3 separate regions of the Homo sapiens genome follow, and regions 1 and 2 are each linked to region 3. The links are contacts of gene promoters, found by promoter capture Hi-C in blood cells and fetal thymus (Javierre and others, 2016). All regions are on one chromosome and are shown on one strand. Each heading gives the region's core, a stretch centred on a gene start or on the middle of the fragment in contact. The rest is flanking DNA. Distances are from core to core; before and after follow the strand shown.

Region 1 (2,968 bases), core at 185-2,684, 300 kb after region 3:
CAGGCGTGTGCCACCACACCTGGCTAATTTTTGTATTTTTAGTAGAAACGGGGTTTCGCCGTGTTGGGCAGGCTGGTCTCGAACTCCTGACCTCAGGTGATCCGCCTGCCTCGGCCTCCCGAAGTGCGGGATTATAGGCGTGAGCCACCGTGCCCGGCCCAAATTTTTTTTTTGTAGACATAGGTCTCACTATATTGCCGAGGCAGGTCTCGAACTCCTGGGCTTAAAGGATCCTCCTGCCTCTGTCTCCTCCGTGCTGGGATTACAGGCATGAGCCACCGCACCTGGCGATATTTTGCATTCTTTTTTTCATACGACGTGTTTGAAATCCAGTTTGTACAGTGTTTTACATTTATAGCACATTCCCACTGGGACTAGTCACATCTGAAGTGCTCAAAAGCCACTATGGCTAGGGCTAACGTACTGGACAACACAATGCTAGAGGAGCCCGTCCCTGAGGACGCTGCAGTTTATAACATCATAGTTCCTCCTCTTTGGACTGCTGCTTTCCCCCTATGTATTAAGACTTGCAGAGTGTAAACAGGGCGCCGTGAGTGTGCAAAGCACACACACCTTCGCAAACGGCTCACTCTGAATACTGACCTTTCGGCTGTCCTACCTTCAACAGGTTTCCCGTGCATAGGAGATCCAAGACAGCAGAAGGCAGGAGCTGGCGGGACAGGGAGGAAGAGCGGCTCTGCCGTTTACTATCTGTGTGACGCTGAGCAAATTACACACGGTCTCTCTGACTCAGCTCCTTCCTGTCACAAATGGGGATATTTATAGTATTTCTCACTACGTAGGTCCTTATGCGCATTAAATGAGCTACTACACGGCATTCGGCATAGCGCCAGGCACACACTCAATGTTCAATACATGTAGGCGGTTAGCCCAGTAAACTGGTAGCCGGCCTGAGTAAGTCCCAGGAAAAGCCCAGAAACTCTGGAGACATTACAGCCCAGGTCGAGAACCACGGCCCGGGCCGTCCCGGACGCGGGCCCACCAAGCCTAGGGAAGCCGCTCGGCACCGCTTCGGCTTCTAGACTCCCTGGCCGGCTCTTTCCCGTCAAGGCTGCGGCTGGAGAGGACTGAGGGAGACCTAGGGAGAGGATTCCTCTTCTCCATCCACGGAGACAACTTGGATATGAACACCATGGATGTGAGGAGGTCCGCTGGAAGCAGGAGGGATGGACTCCTGGACTCTCCAGCTACCTGCGTGGTCCTCCCCGGTGTGAGGACAGAAGACCGGTCCTGGGCCGGGCCCGCATCCAGCCCTACCGCCGGTGTCTGAGGTGAGGGCTCCGTCAGCGGAAAACGCTCGACAACGGAGGGGCAGGCAGGGCCGGGGGCGTGGTCAACGCGGGCCCCGCCCCCCGGGCTCTACCCCCGAGCGTACGCGCGCGCCTGAAGCAGCCAACCAGGAAGCGCAGAGCAGGTTCAAACACAGACGGCGGGTGAACATGGCGTCCTCGACTTGGTCTGAGACGTGATAGGCCTGCCTTCTGGTTGAAGATGTGGCGAGTGAAAAAACTGAGCCTCAGCCTGTCGCCTTCGCCCCAGACGGTAAGCGGGAGATCTCTGGCGGAGAGAACTGGGCCGGGCTGCTGTCGCGGGGGCACCGGCCGTGTCTACTGTCCTGGAAAGTTGGGTCGAGCCCGGGGTTGGGGGCTTGTGGAGTCTTTGTTCGCCTTGCTGCTCCTGCGCGACTAGGGTGCGAGCGTACTCTTCTAATCGCATTTTGGGCTTCTTAGGGAGGGAGGAGGGGCGGGCTGGCAGAACCCAGGCTTCCTCACACTCGCCCTCTTTCTTGGTTTCTTTCTCAGGGAAAACCATCTATGAGAACTCCTCTCCGTGAACTTACCCTGCAGCCCGGTGCCCTCACCAACTCTGGAAAAAGATCCCCCGCTTGCTCCTCGCTGACCCCATCACTGTGCAAGCTGGGGCTGCAGGTGAGATTCGCCTGGACAGCTTCTCGACTGGGCTGTTTGCCCAGGGTGAGAGCTCAGGGGAACAGAGGGCCAGGGCTACAATAATTAATAACGATAATGAAGTCTTCTACGTCGGTGACATCCATTTACAGCTATTCAGGCCAACAGAGAGGTGCCCTAGGGTGGTTAAAGGAAATCCAGTGAGAACTTGAATCTCTGTTTAGCTGTTAGTTTTTATTACCTCCTCCTCCTCCCTTCGACCTTTATCAAACTATTGAGAAATCCTACCACCCTGATTAGTGCTCTTCCTCCAACATGGGGTCACTTACGGAAAGGTCAGTCACCTGCAAGATTGAGGCAATATCCATTTACTCTAGGAGGTAGTTAGAACTCTCCTGGGATCAAGTTACACCACTGGAAGGTAGGGTACTTGAATCACCTTAGTTTAAACTAGCTCCTTGCAGAATTGCCCTCACTGATTTGTACTTTTGTTAAACGTTTTGAGAGACGTAGCCATGTAGAAACTGCATTTCAGTTGCTGTCAAAACTTGTCAAGGAAGCAGCTTGACTCCTGTATAAGATTCCTCCAAGAAAGGCTTTAGGACTAACTGCCTGGAAAAATTGTCTTCCTGAAGAAATTGCTATCCTTTTCTTTCTGATAATGAGAACTATGTAGTTTACCATATTTTCCCTCTTGCTCTGCCTTCTAGAAAGCTCAAGGCCAAACTGGATCATCACATACAGCTACTGTTATAGCTGTATAGGAAGTTTTGCTTCCTCTTTTTTGACCATGACTTTGTTATTTCATTAATCGTATCTATTCATTTTCATGCATATGAATTATTTTTGGAAGGAGATGGGATATCAATAAAATAGGTATGAGGAGGAAAGAAGAGTGTATAGACAGATGACATCCTGAGTAACAGAAGTATGATGATAGCATAGCAGTCTTTCTTGAAAGAGTTGCAAAATACCTACTGTCCAATAGAACTTTCTGGGATGAGGGAAATATTTGATAATCTGTGCTGTCCAGCATGGTA
Region 2 (2,860 bases), core at 81-2,580, 330 kb after region 3:
GAGCCATGTAAGAATGTCCATGCCATTCCAGGGCCATTTCCTACCATCGTTAACAAATGCCCCGCCATGTTTCCCCTGTCCTACCAAGTTTGCTCTTTTATGCATAGGACTTATAAAATCTGTTTGCTTTCTAGAGAAATATCCTAGAGGAGAACCTTCGGCGCTCTGACAAGGAGTTAGAAAAACTAGATGACATTGTTCAGCATATTTATAAGGTATAGGCAGGAGGGAGGTGATATCACTAATGAACCTGGTACAAGGCCTGGCCCCAGGAGGTACTAATGAGCACAGATCTGGTTCCCAGCCTGTGCTGAGAGCTGGGCCTGAATCACTATTGCAGGCTTCTCTGTGGTGTCTGTTTTCTCCCCTCTAATTCAGCGGCTGCCTCCTGGGGCTGGGAGCCCTGGGCCTTAAGTCTGTGGTCCTGAGCTGCGTTTTCTGCCTCTCTTCCCAGACCCTGCTCTCTATTCCAGAGGTGGTGAGGGGATGCAAAGAACTACAGGGATTGCTGGAATTTCTGAGCTAAGAAACTGAAAGCCAGAATCTGCTTCACCTCTTTTTACCTGCAATACCCCCTTACCCCAATACCAAGACCAACTGGCATAGAGCCAACTGAGATAAATGCTATTTAAATAAAGTGTATTTAATGAATTTCTCCAAGCTTACGGAATCTTACTTTTTGGGTGAGAGGGGGCGGATGATGAAGTCAGGGAAGAAGCAGCTTGGGCCTCCTGCCTGGGCACCCTCCATAGATCCCTCTCCACCTCCTGCTGCATCCAAAGCCAAGGCTGCCTGCCCTTCCTCCCTTCCTCTGCTTTCACCAAAACTCTGGGCACTGGACTGCTTGTTCCCTGGCTCACCGCCTGGAGGAAACAGAAAGGCTTCATTCTCTTACTTTCCCCAGCCCCCTCGGGGGTATACCCTGGCAAATATGGGGGTGAGGACAGAGAAGCTCAGTTCATTACTTCCTGCCCTGAACTTGGGCACCTTGAAGATGCTTCTGCCCCACCTACTCAACCTGTTGTTACTGTTCTGGTGCCTCCTCTTCACCAGACTAAGCTTAATCCCCAGCATCCAGCAAGTGCCCGGCACGTGGTAAAGGGATTGTGGCAGAAATGAACGCAAGGTCATGGCCAGGCTCCCCGAGGTGGGAGGGCAGTCCCTAACAGCCACGGATGCCTGGCGGGGCGCTCACTCCACCTCGCCGCCCCGCCTCTGAGGGCGTGGTCTTGCCCCGGACACCAGTCCTGGGGAGGGGGTGTGGTCAGGGCGGGGCATGCAGGCCACGCCCCCGGAGGAGTCACGTAGCTCTGCGACATCCGCAGCCTCATTTACCAGAGGGAGCCAGGGCTGCAGCCTCATCTGTTTGCGGATCAGAACCCGAGCTGTGCTTGTGGCTGCGGCTGCTAACTGGCTGCGCACAGGTAAGGCCAGGCAAGGCGGGAGCCACTCAACATCTCCGCTTCATTTCCTTGGCTCTTCCCCTGCCATCCTCGTCCTGCTACCTGGGACTCCGGGATGTGCCCTTTCGACCCTTTCCTAACATCTTTGCTCCTTTCCGCGTACTTGAAACCCCATGGCTCAACCTCTTCTGTTCTATCCCTCTTCAGCTCTCCCAGCTGGACCTCAGCTTTTCCAATCCCAAATCCTCCTCTACTTGTTGGATTTTTCCTTGGAGTCTGTCTCTCCTACCCAGAGCATTTCCTTCTCAGCCTGCTCCCTCTCCTCCTAGGCTAGGTCCTCTCTCCAGTTCTCCCGCCTTCTCTGCCCCCCGGTCTAGGTCTCTCCCGCTGACTGGTTAGCCTGCATCACCACTAGCTCCCCTCAGTCTCATCTCTCTCTCAGGCTCTCTACTCCTTTCAGCCTTGGTCCTCTGCCCTCCCGTCTGGGTGTCTGAGTTGTGGGGAATTGAAGTGCTTCCTATTGCTATCCTCCTGCCAAACAGGTGAAGTGCTTCCTGGGCACAGAGATGACCCGGAGGTGTCACTAGCCCTAGTCTCCACACACTAACACAGCTGACCCGCTGGGCCCTCTTTCCTACATCACTGCAGCCCCACTGGGGCCAACCTCTGGTACTGGGTGGGAATAGGCAATAGGCATAGGCAGGCAGGTTTGGAGTACAGAAAAGGAGAAGCTGCAGGAGCCTGTGACTGGTATTTGTGCCACTCCTACTCCCTACCTGTTCTTCCAACCTTTTCCTCTAGAAGCTGAGAGAAGAGGGTGGCAATAAGTACTTTTGCCTCATTCTGAAGCCTTGGAAGTAAGTACACTTTCCCTAGGGGTCCTGTGGAGGATGAGAAAAGGGAAGCTGGAAAGGCCAGGACTTTTGCCTACCTCAACAAGGGACCAAGTTCAGTGAAAGAAGGGTTGGCATCCTTGATTGGGCAGCAGATTTATCAGAAGAGCTGTGGCTTCAGGGCTGCTCACCTCCCCACCCCCACCCTGCATCTTTCCCCAGGGCTGGGAAGGATGCCTACCAGGGACAAAAGGAGATGTGGGAACTGGAGCCCTAAGCTTGCTAGCTGTCAGAAGGACTGGTGCCACTTGATGCCCAGGACTCATGCCAAGGACTGCTGCCCTGTTCCCAGCCCCTTGCTTGATGGGGAGGCCATTTGGCCCATCTGGCCAGGAGAGGCAGCAGAGGGTGAGGTCTGGCTTTTTTATCTTGTCTCCACTCCAGGGAGCTGTCACCATGCCTCACTCGTACCCAGCCCTTTCTGCTGAGCAGAAGAAGGAGTTGTCTGACATTGCCCTGCGGATTGTAGCCCCGGGCAAAGGCATTCTGGCTGCGGATGAGTCTGTAGGTAAGTGGACATCTGTAGCCAGGTAGGGTACAGGTGGCTAGGGGACCCTGGGGATG
Region 3 (3,110 bases), core at 130-2,629:
GAATGTATCAGGCAACGGCCTTCTGCCCTGGAATGGTCTTACCCATTTGTTCCTAGCCAGCCCCACCCTTCCTGCCATCATGGTCACTTGTAATTGAGTGATGGAGCTTCTCTGCCTGTCTCTTATCACCTATGAGAACCATTCCAAAGGCAAATTTCCTCCTGAAAGGCAATAACAGATTTTACTCTCTATCTCTTCCTGCTTCCCTTCAGCCATGGAAGGCACTAGTGGGGTTGAGGTAGGGAGATACAGAGGGGGAATGAAGGAGTGAATTCTGACACCCCTTAACTGCCTGTGCCACCTTTAACAGTGTCCTCTCTAGCCTGTGTGGGGAGAACACGGAAGAATCCTAGAAGCTGGGGGCTGGATGTGAAGATAAGAAAACGAAGGATTTGGCCCAGTGCAGAGGCTCACACCTGTAATCCCAGCACTTTGAGAGGCTGAGGCAGGTGGGTCACTTAAGGTCAGAAGTTTGAGACCAACCTGGCCAACATAGTGAAAACCCTTCTCTACTAAAATACAAAAATTAGCCGGGTGTGGTGTCACACACCTGTGATCCCAGCTACTCTGGATTCTGAGGCAGGAGAATTGCTTGAACCCGGGAAGCGGAGGTTGCAGTGAGCCGGGATCACGCCACTGCACTCCAGCCTGGGCAACGAGAGTGAAACTCCGTCTCAAAAGAAAGAAAGAAAGGAAAGAAGGAAGGAAGGGAGGGAGGGAAGGAAGGAAGGAAGGAAGGGAGGAAGGAAGGAAGGGAAGGAAGGAAGGAAGGAAGGAAGGAAGGAAAGGAAAGGAAGGAAAGGAGAAGGATTTGTGCAGAAGGGAAGGAAGGAGAAGGATTTGTTCTTAGAGGGAAAAGCATCTAGGACTAGACTCAAAGACACACGTGTATTCATGTACACACCTAACTTCAGAAGGGAGGGACTGTGCTACATACACCTCGAGTAAACATATGGAGATATGCAAGCACATGCACTGGCAGAGACTACAGATGCAGGCACATACCTGGAGGGACTCTGCCAGAATGCACACAAACACCTACAAGGTGCTTACAGGAGCTCACACACAGGATCCAGAGGCACGCACACAACCCAAAGGGTGATCCTCAGGGACATGGGCACATACACACCTAGAGATCATTCACATACAAGCGTTGCAGATGCATGCACATACCTAGCGTGCACTCACAGGGTGTACGTGGACACACACACCCAGGAGTTCACACAGGCACACACCTAGGGGGCGCTCCCAGGGCCCAAGCGCACACACTCACCTCAAAGGTGTCCACAGAGGCACACGCCCCCAGGACGCCGACGCACGCCTAGGGGGCGCTCGCAGGGCCGGCGCGCACCCGCACGCGCACACGCCCCTGCCCAGCCTCCTGCCCGCCTCCGCCTTCGGAGGCTGACGCGCCCGGGCGCCGTTCCAGGCCTGTGCAGGGCGGATCGGCAGCCGCCTGGCGGCGATCCAGGGCGGTGCGGGGCCTGGGCGGGAGCCGGGAGGCGCGGCCGGCATGGAGGCGCTGCTGCTGGGCGCGGGGTTGCTGCTGGGCGCTTACGTGCTTGTCTACTACAACCTGGTGAAGGCCCCGCCGTGCGGCGGCATGGGCAACCTGCGGGGCCGCACGGCCGTGGTCACGGGTGAGTGCGGAGGCGGGTGAGTGCGAGCTGGCGGGGCGCGCGGAGAGGAGGCCGGGCCGGCGGTAGCAGCGGCCCGCCGGGCTCAGCTCAGCTCGGCTCCCGCCCGCGGTCCGCAGGCGCCAACAGCGGCATCGGAAAGATGACGGCGCTGGAGCTGGCGCGCCGGGGAGCGCGCGTGGTGCTGGCCTGCCGCAGCCAGGAGCGCGGGGAGGCGGCTGCCTTCGACCTCCGCCAGGTGAGAGGCAGCGGGGGCGCGTGGGACGGTGAGCCGAGAACCCGCCGGGACACAGAGAAGCCAGCAAAGGGGCTGCGGAGGATCCGGGTCCAGGGAGGAGAGCGCGGCGCGGGCGGCTGAGCGCGAAGAGGGAGTGCACGGAGCGCTGGGGTCACCCGAGGAAGGCGCACCAGAGCCGAGTGGGGGAGGGGCTTCCTGAAGGCCGTAATTGCAGTTCTGAGACGTTTAAGCATCAGTAGAAGTTGGGTTAATGATCAGTAGGAAAGGGAACAGCAGAGGGCACAGCATAAGCAAAGGCTCTGAGGCAAAGAGAGCTGGACTGATCTGAAAAACTGAGAAAAAGATTTAATGAGGCTGGAGCACAAAGTATGAGGAAGATGGGCAAATGAGGGGGCTGGAGAACATTCTAGAGCCTATTGAGAAGCTTGGATTTTATAGATTGGGCAGCAGAGACCAGTGGAGACCATGAACAGCCCTCAGTAGGCTCCGGACTGTCAGAATAGCCTTTGGAAGGAACTCCTTTGTGGCTGCGTGGTGCCTGGAGTGGGGGGGCAAGAGCGGGAGAGAGGAGACCAGTGAGAAGTTACAGATTTTAGGGTAAATGGTAATGGGGAAAGGAGGTGATAATAATAATAGCAAGTACCTACCCAGTGCTGCTAGAGTGTATTTTACACGTTAACTCCTTTCATCCTCACAAAAGCTCAGTGAGATTGGGACTGTTGTTATTATTATTCCCTTTACGCAGTGAGAGAACTGAGACCCAGAGAGATTAAGTATCTTGCCCAAGGTCACACTTTAGTAAAAGGCAAAGTCAGGATTTGAATCCACACACTTATCTAGTACACTCTAAGACACAGGGGCAGATTTTAGTAAACAGTAGGAGATGGACTCTCAGAATTTGGTGCCTGGGGAGAGGGAAGAGGAGAGAGATGCCTGGTGACAAGCCCAGCCCTTGCCTCTCCACAGGAGAGTGGGAACAATGAGGTCATCTTCATGGCCTTGGACTTGGCCAGTCTGGCCTCGGTGCGGGCCTTTGCCACTGCCTTTCTGAGCTCTGAGCCACGGTTGGACATCCTCATCCACAATGCCGGTGAGGGGCAGCAGGCCCTGCGTGGGGGTGGGGTGGCGGGTGGCCAGGGGCAACTGCCCCCTCCAGCGGGGGCCCTGCTGGGGCCAGTGGACACATGGGAAGGATGCCCCCTTCTCCCATCTCATAGATAGGGATGCCAAGGCTG

Evidence for each region. Contacts are between HindIII fragments. The CHiCAGO score rates a contact against its expected background, and 5 or more counts as called.
Region 1: the fragment with the promoter of SPAG5 here is called in contact with the fragment with the promoter of DHRS13 in region 3 in 6 of 17 cell types (fetal thymus, erythroblasts, activated CD4 T cells and 3 more); the score reaches 11.7 in fetal thymus.
Region 2: the fragment with the promoter of ALDOC here is called in contact with the fragment with the promoter of DHRS13 in region 3 in 2 of 17 cell types (non-activated CD4 T cells and fetal thymus); the score reaches 6.6 in non-activated CD4 T cells.

Annotation. Positions count from the first base shown.
Region 1 is chr17:28,597,491-28,600,458 of GRCh38, reverse strand. It overlaps SPAG5 (sperm associated antigen 5), which reads left to right and starts at 1,434. Exons shown (of 24, transcript NM_006461.4): 1 at 1,434-1,563; 2 at 1,824-1,949. The coding sequence starts at 1,513. SPAG5-AS1 (SPAG5 antisense RNA 1) reads right to left here and starts at 1,326. Exons shown (of 3, transcript NR_040012.1): 1 at 1,213-1,326; 2 at 604-761. RefSeq lists enhancers at 924-1,003, 1,228-1,772 and a silencer at 1,214-1,523. The HindIII fragment of the contact is 7,511 bases long and covers 1-2,968 here.
Region 2 is chr17:28,575,365-28,578,224 of GRCh38, reverse strand. It overlaps ALDOC (aldolase, fructose-bisphosphate C), which reads left to right and starts at 1,330. Exons shown (of 9, transcript NM_005165.3): 1 at 1,330-1,424; 2 at 2,681-2,804. The coding sequence starts at 2,693. SPAG5 (sperm associated antigen 5) reads left to right here. Exons shown (of 24, transcript NM_006461.4): 22 at 1-7; 23 at 135-215; 24 at 455-651. The coding sequence ends at 526. RefSeq lists an enhancer at 928-1,107 and a silencer at 1,158-1,397. The HindIII fragment of the contact is 1,455 bases long and covers 1,062-2,516 here.
Region 3 is chr17:28,901,348-28,904,457 of GRCh38, reverse strand. DHRS13 (dehydrogenase/reductase 13) reads left to right here and starts at 1,379. Exons shown (of 5, transcript NM_144683.4): 1 at 1,379-1,640; 2 at 1,757-1,875; 3 at 2,842-2,965. The coding sequence starts at 1,514. RefSeq lists silencers at 1,157-1,786, 2,288-2,480. The HindIII fragment of the contact is 5,010 bases long and covers 1-2,301 here.